7 separate regions of the Homo sapiens genome follow, and all the other regions are linked to region 7. Evidence: promoter capture Hi-C in 16 types of primary human blood cells and fetal thymus (Javierre and others, 2016). All regions are on one chromosome and are shown on one strand. The core of a region is centred on a gene start or on the middle of the fragment in contact, and the rest is flanking DNA. Distances in the headings are between cores, read along the strand shown.

What was found. Contacts are between HindIII fragments. The CHiCAGO score rates a contact against its expected background, and 5 or more counts as called.
Region 1: a contact is called between the fragment with the promoter of NEMP2 here and the fragment with the promoter of ASNSD1 in region 7, in 2 of 17 cell types (fetal thymus and total B cells). The highest score is 7.5, in fetal thymus.
Region 2: a fragment that was not itself captured here is called in contact with the fragment with the promoter of ASNSD1 in region 7 in 2 of 17 cell types (naive CD4 T cells and fetal thymus); the score reaches 7.4 in naive CD4 T cells.
Region 3: a contact is called between a fragment that was not itself captured here and the fragment with the promoter of ASNSD1 in region 7, in 2 of 17 cell types (neutrophils and M0 macrophages). The highest score is 6.9, in neutrophils.
Region 4: a contact is called between a fragment that was not itself captured here and the fragment with the promoter of ASNSD1 in region 7, in 6 of 17 cell types (neutrophils, naive B cells, total CD8 T cells and 3 more). The highest score is 10.2, in neutrophils.
Region 5: a fragment that was not itself captured here is called in contact with the fragment with the promoter of ASNSD1 in region 7 in 3 of 17 cell types (total B cells, total CD8 T cells and fetal thymus); the score reaches 6.4 in total B cells.
Region 6: a fragment that was not itself captured here is called in contact with the fragment with the promoter of ASNSD1 in region 7 in 1 of 17 cell types (neutrophils); the score reaches 5.3 in neutrophils.

Annotation. Positions count from the first base shown.
Region 1 is chr2:190,532,794-190,536,135 of GRCh38, reverse strand. It overlaps NEMP2 (nuclear envelope integral membrane protein 2), which reads left to right and starts at 1,414. Exons shown (of 9, transcript NM_001142645.2): 1 at 1,414-1,577. The coding sequence starts at 1,481. It overlaps NEMP2-DT (NEMP2 divergent transcript), which reads right to left and starts at 1,298. Exons shown (of 5, transcript NR_183903.1): 1 at 1,015-1,298. RefSeq lists a silencer at 1,101-1,750. The HindIII fragment of the contact is 6,238 bases long and covers 1-3,342 here.
Region 2 is chr2:190,513,816-190,516,943 of GRCh38, reverse strand. It overlaps NEMP2 (nuclear envelope integral membrane protein 2), which reads left to right. Exons shown (of 9, transcript NM_001142645.2): 6 at 560-674; 7 at 2,266-2,491. Among named protein-coding and RNA genes, the nearest start is that of NEMP2, 19 kb to the left of the region's middle. The HindIII fragment of the contact is 603 bases long and covers 1,009-1,611 here.
Region 3 is chr2:190,274,512-190,277,507 of GRCh38, reverse strand. The region is part of intron 6 of HIBCH (3-hydroxyisobutyryl-CoA hydrolase); the gene reads left to right. Among named protein-coding and RNA genes, the nearest start is that of HIBCH, 44 kb to the left of the region's middle. The HindIII fragment of the contact is 624 bases long and covers 1,283-1,906 here.
Region 4 is chr2:190,361,191-190,364,300 of GRCh38, reverse strand. It overlaps INPP1 (inositol polyphosphate-1-phosphatase), which reads right to left. Exons shown (of 7, transcript NM_001128928.2): 4 at 1,614-1,674. Among named protein-coding and RNA genes, the nearest start is that of INPP1, 19 kb to the right of the region's middle. The HindIII fragment of the contact is 960 bases long and covers 1,351-2,310 here.
Region 5 is chr2:190,413,549-190,416,607 of GRCh38, reverse strand. MFSD6 (major facilitator superfamily domain containing 6) reads right to left here. Exons shown (of 8, transcript NM_017694.4): 2 at 1,195-1,316. Among named protein-coding and RNA genes, the nearest start is that of MFSD6, 6.7 kb to the right of the region's middle. The HindIII fragment of the contact is 1,692 bases long and covers 588-2,279 here.
Region 6 is chr2:190,391,414-190,394,653 of GRCh38, reverse strand. No RefSeq gene overlaps it. Among named protein-coding and RNA genes, the nearest start is that of MFSD6, 15 kb to the left of the region's middle. The HindIII fragment of the contact is 898 bases long and covers 853-1,750 here.
Region 7 is chr2:189,659,996-189,663,392 of GRCh38, reverse strand. ASNSD1 (asparagine synthetase domain containing 1) reads right to left here and starts at 1,934. Exons shown (of 6, transcript NM_019048.4): 1 at 1,783-1,934. It overlaps ASDURF (ASNSD1 upstream open reading frame), which reads right to left and starts at 1,934. Exons shown (of 4, transcript NM_001353493.2): 1 at 1,783-1,934. The coding sequence starts at 1,872. RefSeq lists an enhancer at 1,687-1,876. The HindIII fragment of the contact is 6,437 bases long and covers 1-3,397 here.

The sequences.
Region 1 (3,342 bases), core at 165-2,664, 870 kb before region 7:
GTGGTGTTTCAATATAGCTTCTTTACAGATATTTACTAAGGATCTGTGATATAAATAGCACTTTAAATATTTAGTACATTGCTGCCTGCCCTTTTGTTTCTCCACCAGATATATCTGTAGAAAATACATTCATCATTCAACAACCCACCTGTTTATTTTAGCTACTTTCCATAGTGCCATCCAAAATTAAACCAAATCAAAATGAATGTGGTTAGGTACAAAAGCTGTCTTGCAAGAAGCAAGTGCACACCGCACCTGGGAATACAGGAAAGAATTGGATCAGGGCTCTGCTGTTTCTCTGAAGACAGGCTTCACTCAAGTAATGATGGTTTATTTTTAAAAACCATCCCTCTGAAGAGTCCCTTACAAGGAAATTTCTTAACTTTTTAAAAGCCATACATGGTGTACACATGGTGCCAAGTGCTTAAGGGCAGTTGGTTAAACCTTTCTTTGAGGGCAAGGAAAGCCTAGTCCATCCTACTCAGACTTTTAGGAAAAATGAGGCTTATCTATTTTTAACAGGATAATTTCTGTTACTTTGGGTTCTCTAAGATATCTCACCAAAAGACCAGAATTAGAGAAGACTGTCCTAGTTAAGTATGGAATATTGAGTCAAATTAATGGGTTCCAGGTCCTGTGGAGGGAATGTTCTTTAAAATATATGTATATCTCCTAATTATCAGTATTAAGATCATTCAGGTTATATGTTAATTTAAAAATATATCTATTACATTAAGAAACTTTTTTTTAACATAAGGTAATTTTAAGAGAACCTTGTCATGTTGGTGAAGGAACATTTTACGAGCCCCTCTGTACTCTGAAATGCCGTGTCCGAGATTAGACATACAAGTCAGTGTTACTTAAGCGGCCAAATTTCCAATTTGTTATTGCTTGTTACCAAATGAAAGTAAAAAGATAAACAGAAAGGTAAAATAAAGAAACTGGCTTTTATGTATTTTATTCACAAAAAGGGCGTTTGCCGAAGGACCTTCCCATTCACGGGCTGTCACTCACAGGTGCTCGGAGAATTCAGCCTCCAAATCCGCAGGTCACAGGTCAGCCAAGTTTTAAGAAACACTCCGGGTTAGCGACTCTTCCTCTCTGCAACTCCCACCCCTGCGCCGAGGGCAGCGGGACACGGCCGGGCGGTCCCCAGGGGAAGATGAGGCCCTGGACGCCCCGCGTGCGCTGGAGGCCCGGAGGCCAAGGCCGAGGCCGAGGCCGAGGCCGGGAGCATGCCAGCGGGGTCGCGCCACCGAAAGCTCCTCCGGCCTGGGCCCGCCGTGCCCCGAGGCCGCGGGCGGAGGCTGGAGCAACGAGCCCAACTCTCCCTCCGCCCCGGGGAGGCGGGGTCTCCGCCTTTCCCGCGTTCGGGCCTCACCGCCCCCTCCGCCTTCTCTGAGCCCCCGCGCCACTTCCGCTCCTCGCAGCGGAGCCGGTCCCCTAGGGCTCGGGTCGCACGGAGCTGACCCCTAACGAAATGGGGCCGCGCCAAGGGCGGTGGTGGCTGCTGCTCTGGCTGCCGCCCCTGGCCACACTGCCCGTGCGCGGGGAGGCGGCGGCGGCAGCGTTATCAGGTAACCCGGGACCGGCGGCGGCGGCGCGCGCGTGCGTGCTCGCTCCCCGGCTTCGCGGCTGCCCTGAGGGCGCGCTCTTTGGCCCGGGCGGCACCGCGAGGCCCACTGGGGCGGGCGCTCCCTTTTCTCGCTTTGGGGTCTCCCGGGCAGGCCCCGCCCGCCCTTCCTGTCTTACTGGGCTTCCGTAGTCTCTCGCCTGGCAGTTGGACATTTTGTAATTTTAGAATTAGAAGCAACCGCGCGATCCAGTCGCCCAATTCCCTCGTTTTACAGAAGCAACCGAAACTCAGAGAGGTTTTGATTTGCCCAGGGTCACACAGCTTGTCACTGGCACAGCTGACCCTAGTCTCCAGACTTTCAGCACACGGCCTTTTGTACAGTACATCAATGCGTGTTGAAATCCTTGTTATTTCACTATCTCGCATTCCTTTGGTCTCAAGACTAGAGAAGGTAACAGCTTCAGCTTCAGAATCGGAGCGAAAATTCTTCTGCCCCTGACTGTTGTGACCTTGAGCGAGTAAACATAACGGTCCCACGTGAGCGGCAGGTAATGAGGCCTCACAAGGTTCTTGTGGTGTTCGTGTGCACAATGCCTGGCACACAGGAAGCAAGAACTGGTAGCGGCTGCTAGCTGTAGGGGCTCGCCACGGAGTGGGCTTAAGATGCTGGCACACTGGGGAAGGATCTGGGAAGGACACCTGGGGAAGTCAGAAACCTAGAGTTCCAACTCCAGACCTGCCGCTAACTTACCATGAGCTTCACATTTCTGTTTCTTTTTTTTTTTCCCCTCATAAAATCTTTTAAAAGATTTCCTGGGTGCACTGTCTACCAACTTCCCTTCCTTGCTTTGGCTACCCTGGTTTCAAGGGAGGCTGCCAAGTGTATTCTTTTAGCTGGGCATGGCCCTCCCTCCGGTTATACCGCGGTTTTTTATCTAAGGATGAATGAGAGACTGGATGTTGATGAGGTCATTATCAGATTCTGCCACAGCTCCCAACTGAGGGAATCTTGCAGTGAGTTATATGTTGGGGAAGTGTTGGATTCCAGTTTTCATTGAAGAGAAATTTTTTGAGTGTTCAGTATGTGCTAGGCAGTGTTATAAGTGCTTTAACTGCAGTATCTATCATATTTAATACCCATAGAAGCCCTATGCGGGAAAGCACCATTTTATACCCATTTTACAGATGAGAAAACGAAGGTTTGGTAGTAAGAAATACAACAATTTTATGCTGGTGAAAAAATAAAACACAAATCTGTCTAAGCAGGAAGGTTTCTGGGCATGGCAACAGCGAGAAAATTAGAAGTAGCCTTAGACCAGCACCCAGCACCTTGGGTTCTAGACCACTCATTCCTTCAGCCACAACTTGTGGTATAACCTTGGTCCAGGCACAGAGTCTTTATGGACCGTAGTTTTCTCTTGAGTAAAATGAAGATGTTTTTACTGAAGAGTTTCCAGTATTTTCCTCACCTCAGTGAACCTGGTGTTTTTAAAGTTTTTATGTTACCGCATTTAGTATAATAGTAACAGCCTGCTTCTCTGCTTTGTTAATCAAAGACACACATAAATACTTATTGGAGCTTCTGTTCTGCCTGAGACATGCAGGATGCCCACTGACTTGATAAAACTAGTCCACAGCTAAGAAGAATGGCAACTTTTGTAGCCTTAGAGGGATGCCTGCCATTCCGGTAGGCTTTCCAATACGGACTGTGAAGCGCCCAGCATCTGGTAGTGTGCCAGTGACACTGTTGGCAGCCCTGGATTAGA
Region 2 (3,128 bases), core at 61-2,560, 850 kb before region 7:
AATTTTTGTATTTTTTGTAGAGACAGGATTTCACCATGTTGCCCAGGCTGGTCTTGAACTCCTGAGCTCCAGCGATCTGCCTGCCTTGGCCTCCCAAAGAGCTGCAAATACAGGCGTGAGCCACCGTGCCCGGCTACACCTTCAATAAAATAACACACTGAACTTAGTTGAGGATAAATAATTCATGTTGGTAGTGTTGCAGTTACACTGATTAAAGTTTGCAACAGCAGCATTATTTTAAGATAAATTTACTCTTTATAACAGTGCTTATAACTCCAACTTCAGTGTACATGCAAGCTAGATGGGAATCTTGTTGAAATGCAGGTTCTGATTTAGCAGTCTGCAGTGGGGCCTAGGACTCTGCCATCCCAGCAAGCTCCATGTGATGTCGGTGTTGCTGATTTGTGGACCACACCTTAAGACCCTAGGGAGTTTCTTAAATTGACTTCAAATCAGTTTGATGTAGGAGTTTCTAATACAAAAGGTTTATTTGTTTGCTTTTATTTTTATGAGAGTGAATGAACCAAAAAATGTGTCATTTATTTTCTTCCACACACAGTATAGCACCTTTTGGGCTCTAATGGTTGGTTGTTGGTTTGCCTCAGTTTATATTGTATGCCAGTTGATGGAAGATCTGAAGTGGCTGTGGTATGAAAACAGGATATATGTATTAGGTAGGTAAATAGAAAAACAATATGCTCTGTGATTGGTAAAACTGAGATGTACAACTAGAGGCCTTCTTTTGATAGATGTTTCTCTCCAACATCTAAATTTTCATTTTGAACTAACGAAAGGTGCTACTAAAAATAATATTTTGTTTATCTTATTCCCATTGTTGTTGATTTCAGTTCATTTAGATCTCATTTTAGATGATTTCCCTATGACATGTTTCTTAGTTTTCTGTAGTAATGATCAAAAGAGGAAAAAAAAGTGTTTGTCCCTTTTGAATGCACATGCTTCTGAATTGTGGTTAAGCTCTAACCACATCTAACTGGTAATGTAAAAGCTTCTCTGAAAAGTGGCTGTTTCTTTCTTTCCCGTAAGTATTCATTAGGAAAGGTGAGAAATCCTAACTATAAATTACTAATGAAAACTTGCCTTTTCAGAAACACAGAGGCTAAGAAACCATTTATTTTCCTTGTTTTACATTACAAAATAAATGTTTTTATTGTTTATTTTAACTAGAAAATAATGGACAATGAGAGAATCAATTTTCTCCTAACCTTTAGCACCAAATTTCTCACATAAGTTCACTTCCCTCAAAACAAAAGCAATTAAGTTGTTTTACTTGAAAATTGTATATTTTTAGCTCGTTCTTCTTTTTGTGCTACTTTTAAATTACAGATACCATGGTATGCTCCCCTGAATACTGCACTATTCCTCTCTGAAAAACAAGAGGCTTTTCCTATATAATCAGTTAATTATTATCTGAAAAATAATTACATAAAATCATCTATTACCCAGGCCATGAAAAAATTTCCCATTCTTGATGGCTTATATAAACTAGGATATGGTCCAGAACCACATTTAGTATCTGTTTTGTCCTGTAAATTGCTTTTAATCCGTAGCAGTTCTTTTTTCATCATAGTGATATGCTAAAGAAACCAAGCTTGTCCTGTAGAATCTCCACCTTCTAGATTTATCTGATGACCCCTTTATGATAGAATTTAACATATTCTTCTCTTCTGCGTATTTTCTGTAAACTGGAAATTAGACTTCAAGGCTTGGTTAGATATAAATTAAACACTTAAGATAGAATACCTAAGAGGTGATGGGCACTTCACCTTGGATCATACCCAGAGACACAGAATAGCTTATAGTCTCACCATCGTAATGATGAGACTGAACATTGGATTCAGAGGGTGACTCCCTCCACTGTAAAATTACCTTTTCCTTTCATGACAAGAAGGTAAAAATAAAAAATAGGGTTTGTAGCCAATGGTGACATACAACTGTGACTTCTTCCTGACCAAAGTAACCATGATAACATTTTAGTCCAGCCAGGGTGCTGGACTAAAACACAGACATACTTATGTATCATCATAATAATGAGTGTACATCCCAAATTATTGCGAAAGTCAGCCTAGTATCTCATATGGAAGGAATAACACCCTATGTGCATTTTTCAACCTTACTTTATGGGGTAAAAAACACAAAAATTAAGGTTCTCTAATAGTTTTTACCTTTAAGTCAAGGCTCTGCCAGGTTTTTCACATAATGTCTCAAATTCAAATTTATATTATTTTACCTCTTCCACTTTTCCAGGCTATGTCTTGATAGTTGGATTTTTCAGCTTTGTTGTTTGTTACAAGCATGGGCCCCTTGCAGACGACAGGAGCAGAAGTCTTCTGATGTGGATGCTGCGACTCCTCTCCCTGGTTCTGGTCTATGCTGGTGTGGCCGTGCCTCAGTTTGCCTATGCAGCCATAATCCTCCTCATGTCCTCCTGGAGTCTGCACTACCCACTGAGAGCATGCAGTTATATGAGGTGGTATGTATCATTTTTTTCCCCCAGCAAATTTGACATTTTGAGCTCTAGTTTTATTATTTGGGAGAGTGTTTGCACACATCATGTTAATCTCATAATTACATTTGATCTGGAGATTTCATTCTGAGCAAGATTGGGGGTGTAGGGGTAGAGAGCTCCAAGCATCTGATCCCATCTTCATGGCTAGTCTTCATTAATCGTTGAGAGCTGTACCACCAATTACCAGGTAATTAGAGCTCACTCAGAATTCACTAGAGTCAATGGCAGAAGTACTTGGACTCTGGGTTACCTAAAATATCTTCTTTTATTCAACATTTTCTTTAATTAGAGTCAAAGACTGCTTTAGTGGTATCAGCTGTGCTTATGAGATACGAATTAGGAAACAGAAATGAATCATAAATGACTGAAAGGTATTATTTGTATTTAGGACTTTCTTTTCTCTTAGGTTTTTAGTTAAGGCTTATGGCCTTTGGAGTATAAAAAGAAAAATGAAGTAACCTCTATTGTGACAGCTTTGTTATGTTTCTCCTCAGTCATTGAGTCTGAGCAGCTGTTTTCATGTCAGGTGCACAGATGGAGATGGTTCTTGCCCTTGAGGTATACTTGCTAGACATAGGCATACATTTCTATCTCTTTTAAG
Region 3 (2,996 bases), core at 345-2,844, 610 kb before region 7:
GAATAGTACTTGCTTGATTCTGGTCAATAAATTTTTTCTTACAATAATGTAAAAGAATTTTGTTAAGAATTTGTACAGTCCAAAAGATGGCGCCACAGAGCTTGGTTCCCACGGCTTTCCTTTTGTTTTTGTTATAGAAGGTTTTATTTTTTCCAGTATAGAAAATGACAGTTTTATTTTCTCTTGTTACCCACCATGAAGAGTAGCACAGTATCTTTAATATTTTAGAAATTCAAACATTTACTCAGTATTTTGAAATACAGTAAAATAAAAATGAATGTTACTGAGTGGTTCTCCACATGGTAGATCAGAATTATGTAAAATTATTCCAGTGTTTCTGAAAGAGAAACAATTTTTTTATGAATAGATATTTAAATGACTAAATTTATTCTGTTTCTGGGGAAGACAAATTTTTTTATCTCTTTTGCCATTTATATAAAACATCTGGGGTTGCATTTTCTTAAGTTAATATGAGGGGACGTCAAAAAGTTTGTGGAAAAATGGAATTAATTAAGATAGAAATAAAAATAACTTTTTTTCTCAACATAAGCTCCGTCAAATTTAAGGTACTTCTTTTGTCAGCAGTGATACCAGTCATTTAGTCCATCCCTAAATAATTGAGGGTCCTGGGAATTTAACTATGCAAATGCAGTGTTTTTTATATTGGTAACTGAAGAAAAATGGGTGCCATCTACAGATTTTTAAAGACTGGTGTGTTAGTCTGTTTGGGTTCCTATAGAAGAATACCTGAGGCTGGGTATTTTATTTGGCTCACAGTTCTGCAGGGTGTGCAAGAACCATGGCACTAGCATCTGCTTCTGGTGAGGGCTTCAGGTAACTTCCAATTATAGCAGAAGGGGAAGGAGAGCTGGCATATCACATAGCGAGAGAGGGAGTGAGAAAGAGAGAAGGTGCTACATTCTTTTAAACAGCCAGCTTTTGTATGAACTGATAGAGCGAGAACTTATTCGTTACTGTGGGGATGTACCAAGCCATTCATGAGGGATCTGCCCCCATGACCACACCTTCCATTTGGCCCCAACTCTAATGTTGGAGAATAAATTTCAACATGAGATTTGGAGGGGACAGATATCCAATCTATATCAATTAGGAAACATAAAGGAGTAAGAAGGAGCCAAATCAGGTCTATAAGGTGGATGCCTAATAATTTCCCATTGAAACTCTCAAAATTGCCCTTGTTTGATGAGCGGAGTAAGTAGGGGCATTTACATAGTGTATGAGGAGTCTCTGATGAAACTTTGGGCCTTTTTCCGCTAAAGCTTTGGCTAACTTTTCATGATAGTTCTTTGGTGTTCCAGAAAGTCAACCAGCAACCTGCCTTGAGCGTCCCAAAGAATTGTTGCCAACCTTTGCTCTTGACCAGTCTGCTTGTGCTTTGACTGGACCACTTCTCTCTCTTGGTAGCCATTGTGGTTGTGCTTTATCTTCAGGATCATACTGGTAAAGCCATGTTTCATCTCCTGTTACAGTTCTTCAAAGAAATGCTTCAGGATCTTGATCTCACTTACTTAAAATTTCCATTGAAAGCTCTGTTCTTGTCTGCAGCAGATCTGGATGCAATGGTTTTGGCACTCATCGGATGGAAAGTTTGCTCAGCTTTAATTTTTCAGTCAGAATTGTGTAAACTGAACCAATTATAAAAGAATTGTGGCATTGGCTATTGTTCATGCCATTAACTCTCAATCATCTTCAATTAGGGCATGAACAAGATAAATTTTTTCCTCACAAATTGATGTGGATGGTCTGCCACTGTGGGCATCTTGAACATTGTCTCATGCCTTCTTTAAAAGAGTTATCTATTTGTAAACTGTTGATATCTTTGAGGCATTTTCCTCACAAACTTTTCACAACTCACCAGTGATTTTACTTTTCTTCTACACAAGCTTTACCATAAATTTGATATTTGTTCTTGCTTCAATTTTAGCGTAATTCATATTGCTCTGATAGGGGCCCTTTCAGACTGCTGTCCTATCCCTCTTAGGACCTCAAGCTAGATCCTGTTCTGGTATGTTATGACAAATTAGTAAGAGTTGATTTTCATACAAAAAAATTTGAAGTTCTTGCATAGTTTTTTCATAATAATGCATATTCCGTGAACTTTTTGAAGATTCCTTGAATATAACAATTACAGATTTGTTTAAATATAAAATTAAGTAGATATAGAACAGAGGACAATCCTTAAATTTTTGTTTCATACATGTAGTACCACTCCTGTTTCCCTCCCCAACTGAATTGGATTTAAAGAACATTTTAGGTTCTTCTCTCCTCCTCTCTCTCCCTCCTAGTCTTCCTTTTTTTCCACCACCTCTTGCATTTTCGAATAGAAATGAAGTTGGTTCCCCAACCTAACTCAAAATATGGCACAGTAAGGTATTGTTTTTGTGTTTCTCAAAATGCTCTTAAGATGCTACTAGTGAGAGGGTTTTTTGATTATAGGAGACCACAATATGCCACCCTAAATATGCCACTTTGGCATAATGATTATTTTGAGCAGATTATTTTGAGAACCAGCAGATACAGGATCATCTCTGAAAACAGCACAAGTTACCTTTTTGTAAGAGAAATGTGTACCTAGAAAGGAAATCTCTATTTGTAAGAGTGTCTCCCTTTCTGGGGAAGAGAAGGATGACCAAATTGCAAGAGACTCCTATCAACAGAGATAACAACATAAATCTGCAAAACAATCGTTTCTCTTATTTACCATGCTTTTTGTGGTAACCTTCCTTCACATCCTTTCGAGTTGAAGTTGCTATGTAAGCTGGAGTTTTAGGCTCCCTCTTGGAGAGTTTTTATTTCTCCCTGGATAATCTTCTGTGTATACATGAGGTATACATGTTAATAAACTGTTTTTCTCTTGTTGGTCTGTCTTGTTGGAGCAGTCCCAGCTAAGAACTCAGAAAGGTAAAGGGAAAATTCCCCCACCACACACAATGAATAATAGAAAATTAAGTTTTAAAGTGTATTTTAGAAAGAGC
Region 4 (3,110 bases), core at 581-3,080, 700 kb before region 7:
CCCAAAGTGCTGGGATTACAGGCGTGAGCCACCGCGCCCGGCCGACCTACTGAATTTTAACCAAGATCCTGAGGCGATTACATGACCAGTAAAGTGTGGGAAGCACAATATACATCTATTACAGTGATGACTGAATCAGCAAGAAACAGTCAAATTTAGTTAAATTAACTTAATTCAAAGTAAATTAGACTGTTAAAGTTGGGGAATAATAAAGCTAATAATGGCTACTTACTGCACACCTACTCTGGGCTCAGTAAAACTTATGGGATCATTCAAAGGAAGAAATTATATCACTCCTTTGCTTGAAATTTGCCAGAGACCTCCCATCCCACTGAGAGGGAAATCTAAATCCCTTCCTATGATCTGGTCTTGCCTGCAATATCATCATCACCATCTCTCCTCTTCCTCTCTCCACATTTCTCTGCCCTTTTAACAAACAGGAAAATGGATGTGGCTATGCCTTTTGCCTCTATAATTCTAGACAAATGATGTATTAAAATAGCTGTTTGTGAAGTAGTCAAGCGTAGATTTTTAAATGTAAGATTGCTTATAAGTCAGGCATAAGTGTTATTTTTAACCTTCAGAGGTTTAAAAGATTTCTTTCCCGTATTACTAACATAGAACTAACTGCATCTTAATATGTGGTGCATGAAGGAGACTAAAAAATTTTCAGAGTTAATCTAGAAACTCATTTTTTCTTTGTAATTGTGTTTCTAGATATATAAGTATTTGTCACATGATCAGTATTTAATGTTCACTATTTTATTCTTCTACTATTAAATCCAAACAAACTAAAAAAAAAAATTGTTTCTCTGAAAGAAATCAGATTACCTGAGGTCAGGAGTTTGAGACCAGCCTGGCCAACATGGTGAAATCCCATCTCTAACTAAAAATACAAAAATTAGCCAGGTGTGGTGGCACATGCTTGTAATCCCAGCCACTCAGGAGGATGAGGCAGGAGAATGGCTTGAATCCAGGAGGTGGAGGTTGCAGTGAACCGAGATTGTGCCACTGCACTCCAGCCTGGGCAACAGAGCAACTCTGTCTCAAAAACAAACAAACAAACCAAAAAACTTAGTACTAAAAGGAATCTTTTAGTTAATCCAAGTACTTCACAGAGGTTCTGAGACTTAGAGAAATGATGAGTTAATTTGCTCAAGATCACACAGTATTTCAGAACCATGGCCACCTCTGTACTTTTAGCCAAGGTCCATGGACTTCCCCCAAGAGCGCACAGATGGGTTTAAACCTAGGATCTGAAATTGTCTGCATAATTTTGTAGATGGGCATCTTTGGGGCATTAATAACTTACATTAGATTCCCAAAGGGCCATGCAATTTTCCCAAAGCTTGAGTTATAAGTTACTTAAATGCCACAGATTTATATCTAAAATGATACATGGACTTGCTAAATTATTCTAAGATACCACATCTCTCTACTTAAGTTAAATGGCATGATATTCTGAGGTAGAAATTGAATGAACCTTAACATTCAAATATATTATGTTGTTTACAGTAAGTGGCTTCCAAACATTTAGTTCATGGTATAAACTAGAGACTAGAATACCATATGATAATTAAATTACAAAGACACATTAAGATTCTTATACTTACCCCAGTCATTAGTAAACTCATTGGATTCTTCTCCAAAAATATTTTTTTCCAAGCCTGGAAACTGAATGATTCAGAGTATGACGAAAAACAAAACAAAAACCCACACATATGCTCAATTCTGAACAGATTTCAATTTTATATTTCAAATTAAATAGCACAATCAGAACTGAAATTCCAAAATTTCCAATTCTAGAAACCAATCCAAGTATAAAAAAACGAAGTCAACTTGGCTCAGTGCTTAATTTTCTAATATTTTTCTGTTCTTTTGCCCCTCTAGAAAGTCAAAATCATGGTAGATGCCTGGTTCCCTTATGTCCTGTTTAGTTTGCAAAAGTACTTCTAGAAACTTCATCCTTCTACTTAAGGGCCATAGAATTCGAATATTTGCAAAGGACATGTTTTAACTATTGCTCTTAAACAACATCCCAGTAGCTTATACAAGGCAATTTCGTTGATCAAGTATCTAAAAGCACGACTTGAGACTGGATAGAAGGAATTAGAGGATAGATAACATTCGATTTTGTTTTTATTTTCAGGCGTTTGTTTCCCCACTCTCAGATGTATCATCATTCAGGCTAGGAAGGGGATATGAAAAAAGAGAAAGATTTTATTGGCCAATAATTTAAGTATCAATATATAGAGTGAATAAATGGAGTCAAGTAAGAATCTTCTGTCATCTCTGTATGATCACGAAGCTTTCTGATGCATTTTGCTTCTGATCCTCTCTGTAATAAAGATAATTTTTCTCAAAATATGTCCTAAATTTTGATACACATATTCTCAGGGAACAAAAGCAAGGACGTGCTTCAAATATTTGAACTCGGTCATTTGCAGATGACCAATAGCTTTAATAATGCCCACAACACTTATTATTCATATTATTTTGTGGGACAGTACAAATCAACAAGGGCTGGCAACCAGCCCATTCATCAAGGGCTGAAACTCAGTCTCCCAAGCCTGCTTAAAGACCAGTTCTGAGATTACAAGACAAAAGCCTCATGAAATAAAGATATTTTATACAGCTAAAATGGAATATCATTTATTTTAGCTCATGAATAAACAACTGCCTGAAATTTTTATAATGCTTTGAGGCAAATATTAGCCCATAAAAATTAATGTTGATACATTTTTAATCCAGTTGCTCAACCATCCCTTGCACCCAACTATATTGATAAGTAAAAAAGAAAAATAAATTTGCTTCATTTAGTTTATCGGAGCAAGATTTTATATGACATGAAAAAGTATAGTTTGTAGAGATTTCATGATGGCATTTCATCTCTTCGCCTGTGGTCAAGATTTCACTGAAACGATTCTAAATGATTCTCAATATTTTGAAAATTTCATAGAAATTATTTCAATATTTTATAATGCTTTCTGCCATAAAGTTCTATTCTCCCAAATGTAATGGTTAGATTATCATATAAAAGGCAATATAATATTGCAAAGAACACAGACTCTGGAGCCAGTCTGCCTGTGTTCAAAAACTGGCCCTACCAT
Region 5 (3,059 bases), core at 184-2,683, 750 kb before region 7:
ACCCTTGAACTAGGCTAGTATTTCATCCATCTGTGCTCATGAATTTATGTTCATGTCTGTTTTCATGTCTACAGCCTGATGGGGGCCTGTGAGGCACTGGTTCACTGGAGAACACACTATTGTAATATGGACTGGAATGATAATTCATTATCTCCAGGAAAGAAATAACTATTCACTTAAAATAAAATATTCTGTAGAAACATTTTACTTATATTTGTAACATCATAAATCTGAAAGAAAGGACCTGAAATCCTCTCTAACATTTCCTTTCAACTTGCTAACAGGGTGAAAAAGGAACAAATTATTTTGATCTCTTAAGGGTTGGAGGAAATAGCTTATAACCATAAAGATGACTTTAGTAATAAAGACCAACTAGATTTTCACTTTCACTTTGTGGAAGAAAATAATCAAATGTCAATTAAAAATTTATAATTTAGGTTCCTCAGACCTTATCAGCCATCATGAAGCAGATTCCTACTTATTAGTTTTAGACTCCTGATTAAATATTGTGCCAATATAGCATAATTTATAATATAAATTTGAAGCAGGCCCCAGAACTTCATTTCCTTCTACCTTTCAAATAAGCTTCCTGTCTTAGAACAAGCCCAGCGGGAGGAAAAAGTAACAGTTCACATTACAGAGCTATTCTAACACTATTAGACACTGAGGAAGTTAAGAGGGTTAAATAAAGCACAATCTATACACGAGACAAGGCAGTTTAAACAGAAATGTATGGGTGCTTCTTTCTCAGACCTTTTATGAGTTTACAATTGAGACCAGAATATAGATCTCAAGGTTTATAATACATTTTCCTATAGCCCTGGACTATCATCAGTTATTTTTACTTACATCCCCTAAATGTGCTATAGTCTAAAAGAATAATTTATATCCTTAGTACCTTCCCATATATGTAATCTAAAATTGTTTTATTTTGCTGTTAGGGTTCTGATAACTTGAGAATTACCATAAGCTATCAATTCTAATGATATAATTAGTTTCAGAAAAAGGTTTATTACTTAGCCCATAAAATAAAAAAGTGGCTGAGCACAGTGGCTCACATCCGTAATCCCAGCACTTTGGGAGACAGAGGCGGGAGGATCACTTGAAGCCAGGAGTTTAAGACCAGCATGGGCAACAAAGCAAGATCCCATGTCTACAATTTTTTTTTAATGAGTCAGGCATGGTGGTTCATACCTGTAGTTCTAGCTATTCAGGAGGCCAAGGCAGGAGAATCACTTGAGCCCAGGGGTTCAAGGCTGCAGTGAGCTAGGATCACGCCACTGCACTCCGGCCTGGGTAACTGAGAGAGATCCTGTCTGTAAATAAATAAAAATAAAAAAGATAGATACTTTAACATACATACCATACCAATAATTTTTAAAATGGAAATATTCAATGCTGGTGAGTATGAGAATTGACAGGCATTGTCATTCACTGAGAGTAAAAACATAAACTTTCTGAAAAGCAAAGACTTAAATGTAAAGATTTTTATTGCAACACTTTTCACAACAATCACAACTGAAACAAAGTAAGTGATCAATAATAAGGACAGTTAAATAAGTTATGGTGAAAATAGGTAAATAAGCTATAGAGAAAAATAAAATCTTATATCCATATCATGGGAAAATAGAACTTAACTACATGGTAAAATGCATCATGTTAAATGAAAGAGCAGGACACAAACCTCTCGATATAGTACAGTTTATATTTGTAAATCTATGTAGCTCAAATAAAATGTATTTTAGAAAAAGACTCGATAAAAATGACACCAAAGTGTTATCAGGGATTATCTCTGAGTAGTAAAATTAGGACTTATTTAATTTTTTTCTTATACTTGGCTGGATTTTTAAAAAATCATTATTTATCACTTTAAAAATACATATTTAAAAAGGAATTATTTTAAATATAAAACATTTGAGTGACAATTAGGATGTCCTTGTTCCCGGAGTTCCTGAAAAATTATAGAGTTATTAAATTGAGGTCTGATCATTCATCTAATGCCTTGTGCTTCCCAGTATACGGAATTGAAAGGGACTGTCACAAGGACTTTGAGACACTCTTAAAAGATATGCACACCTTTTACAGGGAGCCTCATTACACAGAAAATAAAATTGAAATGTGTCATGTTTACTCATTCAAAAGAATCATAATAAAGTCTTTTATTTAAACTCCCTTATAAATGTGAATTGGGGCATATTTGTTCATTAGTTAAACACAATTGCACAGGCATGATTTTGAAATAGAATTAAGAAAGGCACTCCATAATAGCTAAAGAAGCTTGCCTTTGCTGGATTGGAGCACGTTAATCAAGAACACAGCGCTTCTTTATTTTATGTTCCAGGACACATGTGCAGGACATGTGGGTTTGTTACATAGGCAAACGTGTGCCATGGTGGTTTGCAGCACCTACCAACCCATCATCTAGGTATTAAGCCCCACATGCATTAGTTATTTATCCTGATGCTCTCCCTCCCCCTGCCACCCAACCCCCCAGACAGGCCCCAGGAACACAGTACTTCTTAAAAGTCATAGGCAGCATGCATGTCACTTTGTATGATTCTGCTTTATGTGTTTGGTGTGGTGCCTTCCTCCTTTGCTCTACCTTGAGCCAAGTACCTTGAGGCCAAGTATGTTCTACCTTAACTTTGTCCCTAAAAGTGCCCTGAACAGTTAAGAATTCCCAGCGTGACTCACAGGGACCCACTCCTGCCACTGCTCCAGTGCTCAGTTTCTCCTGGAATCCTGGGCCCTGACTGCCATGTCTCCTCTTCACCCCACAGTATAGCAGGGCTCATGGTACATTGGTTTATTGGAGCTCAGAGAGAGCAGGCCCCGTGCAGAGTGGAGTGCACCTGCCTGTGGAACAAGGTCTCTCTACATAACCAACACAGACTGCTAACTACCAGTCCAGGCTCGCCACTCACTTTCCTTTGGCACGGTTAACCCACACATCGGGCTTGTTCAGGCAGCACCAGTTCCTCCTTTTTATCCTCCTCAAAGCCACACACCAGAGCTCACTCTGCCCACTGCTGATTCATAGTGTCCCTGTCTTTCCCTGT
Region 6 (3,240 bases), core at 52-2,551, 730 kb before region 7:
CCACTGGGTTTATCTCATGAATGGAAGCTTAAAAAATCAATGTAATTTTCCATATTAACAAAACAAAAAGGTAATATCATATTATCATCTCAATACTATAGAACAAACATTTGATAAAAATCCAGTGTCTCTTCAAAATTGAACTAGAGATTCTATTTCATGTGATGAGGCAAAAATAAATAGCATCTAGATGAGGAGAAACTAAAACTTTATTCATAGATAATGTGTTTATGTGGCAAATCCTCAACAATCCACAAACAAGTCTGTAGAACAAATAGACCTAATAAGTGAGAGTATCAAGTTTGCAAGATACAGAATTCAATTTAAAAATCAAGTGTACTTTTCTATATAGACAAAAAACAACACGAATTTAAATTTATAAAACATATTTTACATGGTATCGAAAATACCTGTACACTAAAAACTATAGTTGAAAGAAATTAAAGAAAACCTAAATAAATGGCAGTGATTCATCATATTACCCGATTAGAAGCCTAAATGTTATTTAAAATGCCATTTCTTTTTTTTTTTTGAGACGGAGTCTTGCTGTGTCAACCAGGCTGGAGCACAGTGGCACAATCTCGGCTCACTGTAACCTCCACCTCCCAGGTTCGAATGATTCTTCTGCCTCAACCTCCTGAGTAGTTGGGACTACAGGCGCATGCCACCAAGCCTGGCTAATTTTTGTATTTTTAGTAGAGACGGGGTTTCACCATATTGGCCAGGCTAGTCTCGAACTCCTAACCTTGTGATCCGCCCACCTCGGCCTCCCAAAGTACTGGGATTATAGGCTTGCCATTTCTTTTCCAATTTATAGATTAAACACAATCCCAATCAAAATCCCAGCAAGCTTATTTGTAGAGATTGACAAACTGATGCTAAAATGTACATAGAAATTCAAAGGGTCAGCTAGGTGTGGTGGCTTACACTTGTGATCCCAGCACTTTACGAGGCTGAGGCAGGAGGACTGCTGAAGTCCAGGAGTTTGAGACCAGCCTGGGCAACATAGGGAGACCCTGTCTCCACAAAAAACTTTAAAAATTAGCTGGGCATGGTAGCATGCACCTGTAGTTCCAGCTACTCTGGAAACTGAGGTAGGAAGATTGCTTGAACCTGGGAGGTTGAGGCTGCAGTGAGCTGTGATCGCTATACTGCACTCCAGCCTGGGTGACGAGCGAGATCCTAACAAAAAAAAGAAAAAAGGAATTCAAATGTTCTAGAATATTCAAAGAAACTTTGAAAAAGGTCAAAGTTGGAGGACATACACTGCCCAAATTCAAAACTTATTATAACCTACAGTAATCAAGATACTGTAATATTACTATAAAGACAATCAAAGAGATCAATGGAATAGAACAGGGAGTCCAGATATCAGACTTACAAATATATATGGTCAATTGATTTTCAACAGAGCTACCAACGCAATTCAATAGAGAAAGATAATGTTTTCAACATAAGTGCTGGGACAAATGGATATTCTTATTTAAAAAGTAAAGCTCAATTTTACCTCATGCCATATATGAAAATTAACTGAGAGCTGGAGCAGTGACATGTGCCTGTAATCTCAGCTACCTGGGAGGCTGAGCTGGGAGGATTGCTTGAGCCCTGTAATTTGAGACCAGCCTGGGCAACATAGCAAGACCCCTATCTAAAAAATTGTGCAAAAAAATTATTGACCTAAATATAATAGCTGAAACCATCAGATTCCCAGAAGAAAACACAGGGGAAAACTTGTTACCTTTGTCAAGCTTTCTTAAATAGGATATAAAAACACAAAAGTATGAAAAGAAAATAATCAATACATTGGACTTCATCAGCATTAAGAATGTTTGCTTTTCAAAATACAGTGTTATAAAAATGAAAAGGCAAGGCACAAAAAGGGAGAAATTAGTTTTAAACATATATCCAACAAATGACTTTTATGTAGAATATGTAAGAACTCTCACAACTCAACAGTAATAAGACAAACAACAAATTTTATTCTTTTGTTTAAAAATGAACAAAATTTTTTCAAATTCACATGAAGACGTATATGATTGTACATAGCAACTTTATTTGTAATAGCCAAAAACTGGGAACAAGTCAAATGTCCATCAACATGTGAATGGATAAGCAAATTGTATATTCATACAGTAGAATACTACTTAGCAATAAAAAGACACTTTACCAAAGAAAACATATTGATGGCAAATAAGCACATGAAAAGTTGTTCATTATCAGTGGTCATTAGAGCAGTATTTTAAACTGGGCACAATTTTGCCTCTACATGCCAGATACATTTGGCAGTGTCTGGAGATACATTTGGCAGTGTCCCCTCCCCACAAAGAATTGTTTGGTCCAAAATGTCAATAGTGATAAAGGTAAGAAACCTACATTAGGGAAACATGTCAAAACCACAGTGAGATACCGGTACATATGAAGAAGAATAGGTGAATAAAGAAATAGGTAAATAAAAAGCAGCATACCAAGTGATGAAGAGAATGTGGAACAAATGGAACCTCAGACAAAGCTGGTGATTCTACCACTTTGGAAAATAATTTGGCAGTTTCTTGAAAAGTTAATCATAAATCTACCCCAGCTATTCCACTCCCAGGTATATCCCCAAGAGAAATGAAGGCATATGTTCACATGAAGACATGTATGAATGTACATAGCAACTTTATTTGTAATAGCCAAAAACTAGAAACAAGCCAAATGTCCACCAACATGTGAATGGATAAGCAAATTGTATATTCATACAGTATAATACTCAGAAATAAAAAGAACAAGCTACTGATGAGTGCATTAACGAATAAACAAACACACACAGATGAATATAAAAATAGTTATCATCAGTGGAGAAAGCCAGACACCACTACATCCCAAAAAAGAGTCCGGTATAATTCCATTTATAAAACTCTAGAAAATGCAAACTCATCTGTAGGAACAGAAAACAGATCAGTGGTTCCCCAGGAATGGAGGTCAGGGTAGAGTAGGGAGGGGAAAGAGAGAAAAATTACGAAGGGGCATGAGGAAATTTTGGAGCATCATAGATATGTTCCTTACCTTGATTGTGGTGATTGTTTCAGGGGTAAAACTTACCAAGTTGTATACTTTATGTGCAGTTTATGGTATGTCAACTGTAATTCAGTACAGCTGGTGGGGGGCTTGACTCGTGTTTTGTTTGAGTAAAATCATCCCATTTTCTCCTTGTCACTACTGACTGGACCATATCTTTTTTATAAGCCAAGCACAACTCCA
Region 7 (3,397 bases), core at 685-3,184:
AATCCCAGCTATTCGGGAGGCTGAGGCAGGAGAACTGCTTGAACCCGGGAGGCGGAGGCTGCAGTGAGCCAAGATTGCACCACTGCACTCTAGCCTGGGCAACAAGAGTGAAACTCCGTCTCAAAAAAATAAATAAATAAATAATTTAAAAAATATATATATATGATATACACCAAAAGGAATTAAGTTGTGATTTAGATTGAAAATTAAGTTGTGATTTAGATTTAAAAAAAAGCAAATTGAATGAGGGGTGGGTTACTTTTTTCAATATTTTCATGATTTTATGTACTAAGTGCTGCAGTCAAACATTCAAATCAAGCAATGCCCTATTTGGGGACAGTAAGACCTATCATGTTCCATCTTGGTATTTTTCCCTCTTTTTATCTCAATGACTAGCATAGAGCTGGCACTGTTGAACTGGGCTTTTTTTTTTTTTTTTTTTTTGAAACAGGGTCTTGCTCTGTTACCCAGGCTGGAGTGCAGTGGTGCGATCACGGCTCACTGCAGCTTTGATCTTCCCGGGCTCAGGCGATTCTCACACCTTAGCCTCCGAGTAGCTGGGACTACAGGCCTGGGCCACCATGCTGGCCTGGGCTTCATTTATTTGTAGGGGAGGGCTCAACTAAGTGAAAACTAAGTTTCTTTTTAACTCTATTTATTTTGTGAACATGACTGATTACATAGTATCACAAGAGCCTCTAAAAGCAGCTTTTATCATATTTGTGCTACCTCACACACACCTCAGGGATCTGTAACCACCAGTATGCGTAAGTGGCTTGCTATGGTGGTAATCAGAATGGGCTGTGTGTCTTTTGAAAATTCACCCCCAATCCCCATGAATGTGCACCTTTCTGTCTCCCCCGTTGGCAGAGCTGTAGTAATGAGGTTGAATTCCAAGGCCAAATTTGTAAACATTCTTTGAGACTTAACATTTATACAGGGCTTTCCCATTTTAGGAATGACAGGTGTACATTTCACTTTACTTCAAAGAAGGTAACTGATACAGAAAGATTAAAGAGACTTGCCCAAGATGTCATTGTAAGTTTGGGACAGAACCAAAGTAGAATCTAGGACATGTAATACCTGAAGGGCTATAACCCTCGCCACCCCCATTTATCTTTAAAGGTTGTTTGTTTATGGCAGTTAAGGCTTATATTATATTGGCTTCCTCTCTCCCCCAGTTTGGTATGAGTGACAACCCAATGCGTGTTTTAGGACCATTGCTCTGGTTAACGGAGAAGCAGCAGCTAACAGGTGGATGAGGAGAGACCGCTTAGGAAGGCCTTGCCGGGGGCAGGGGTCCCGATAGCAGATGACGGTGGCTTATTTGGGGTGGTAAGAGTGTTCACGGTGATAAAGGGACATATTTGAAATGAGCTTCAAAGGTAGAACTGATAGGCTTCCATGATGGGGGTCAAGGATGGACCCCGGGTTGCTGGCATGGTTAACTGGATGGAGAATATCTTTGATGGAACAGATTTGGGGTGGGCGGTATTTCCAAAAGTTTAAAAAGACTAGGGAGGAAAACACCCAACCAAAACTCCGCCCCACTGTCACCTGGGTCCAGTCTCGGGACAAATTTCAAGATCTCCCTTTTCGCAACTGTTTTCAGAAAATAAAAGGACTAACTGTGGCTGTCAAGTGCTATGAATAAAAAGAGCAAAGTAGCAGGGCAAAGCCGAGGCCCAGGCAGGCCCCACGCTGCCCGCTGCGGACCACCTTCAGGGTCCAGTGGCGCCCGGTCCCGAGTCCAGGAGCCTTTTCGTCGCGTCTCACACTCACCTTGCTGCTTAGATCCTCCTTGTGTGGGGTCGAATTGTCGGTGGGGATCAGCACAGAGCTGTCCTCTGGTCGCGTCCCTCGGCTGGGCATTTCCACCGAGCGCAAGACACGCGGGATGGCTCAGCCCTGAAGGAGCCTACGGCATTAGCCACAGCGCATGCGCGCTTCCAGCCGCGCTCACCCTTTCTTTTCCCGCGAGTCTTACCAATAGCGTCTGCGCGCTCACTTGAACGCATGCGCAGGCCGGGTCTGGCCTGGGGAGGAGTTTCGCGCCTGCGCATGGCTGCTTAGGGAGCGAGTAAACAGTCTGGTTGCAAAATCTGAGGTTCCTGTACTGGCCTCTTGTGGTTGAGATGCAGAAACGCTCAGGTGGTTTCTTCATGACCTCTTATCTAGTATACTACGAGTTCTGTGCGCCCTCCAGTGGTAAATATGAAGAATAGTCGTGCAATAGAAACAGCGCTTAATATGATATTTATTATCTAGGGAAAGATGAAGCTAAGGAACAGATTTAAGAGATACCGTGTTGGCAAAAGAACTGTACAGACTTGGTAAAGTTTTGGTTAACTCGTGGTTAGGGTTGCCGGATAAAATACAGTATGAACTTCAGATGAATTAATAGTTTTTTAGTGCATCTATGTCCCGTGCAATATTTGCAATATCTCATTTCTGTGGAAAAAATGACTAAAACTTGGAAATAGGCAAAAGAGATTTATTTACTGGATGCTCTTTCAGTGCTGCTCTGGACTTGACTTTATTATATTGACTGGGCTGTTTTACAATTCTGTAGGGGCAAAGGTTAACTTTGGTAGAGATTTTGGTTTGGTAGAGATGCAAATAATTTTTTGTTGTACCAGATACCAACACAGGTTATGATTTATTGTTCTGCAACACATTAGTCAGTTTTGTATCTAACCCTGCATTCTGTCCTAACATTTCTTTATTAACATATGCCTAGCTTCTCTAATATTCTGTATTGGTTTTAAAGTCATCGGTTCCCTCACTAACCAATGAGTTGAATAAAAGTTTGACATGTATATATTTTATGTTCACATTAGAGACATGATTTTAGGTTTTTGATAATTATACTATATTATTGGAAATCTTAAGTTTCCACAGAGATGCCCAACTGGATTTATGTGATGAATCAAACTATCTGGCGAAAGAAATGTATACATCATGGGTTGTTTAAGGCCAGGCATGTTTTTTATTTGCTCTTACAGAAAACCCAAGTGGTTATATATTTTTCCTTTATAATTGATTTTTAAAGATTGTGTTTTCATTTCTGATTTGTACATTCCTGATAAGTTATTCAGGTATAACTTATACATTACTGATACATTGATAGCAGCAATGATTGGGAGTTTGGTTTTGTGGTCTAACCATTTGGTGGTATCTGTTGGATGATGGACGTCTAGTCTCATTGGTAGAGAGGTAGATAGGTGCAGTGGCTCAAACCTGTAATCGCAACCACTCGGGGCTGAGGTGGGAGGATTACTTGAGGCCAGGGGTTCAAATAAATAAATAAGAGAGGTGACAGAGAAGCGAGTTTGTAAGTCTTTTTGTTTATTGTTTGTGAGCTCAAATTAATTAATTACTTTTGTGTCCACTGAGA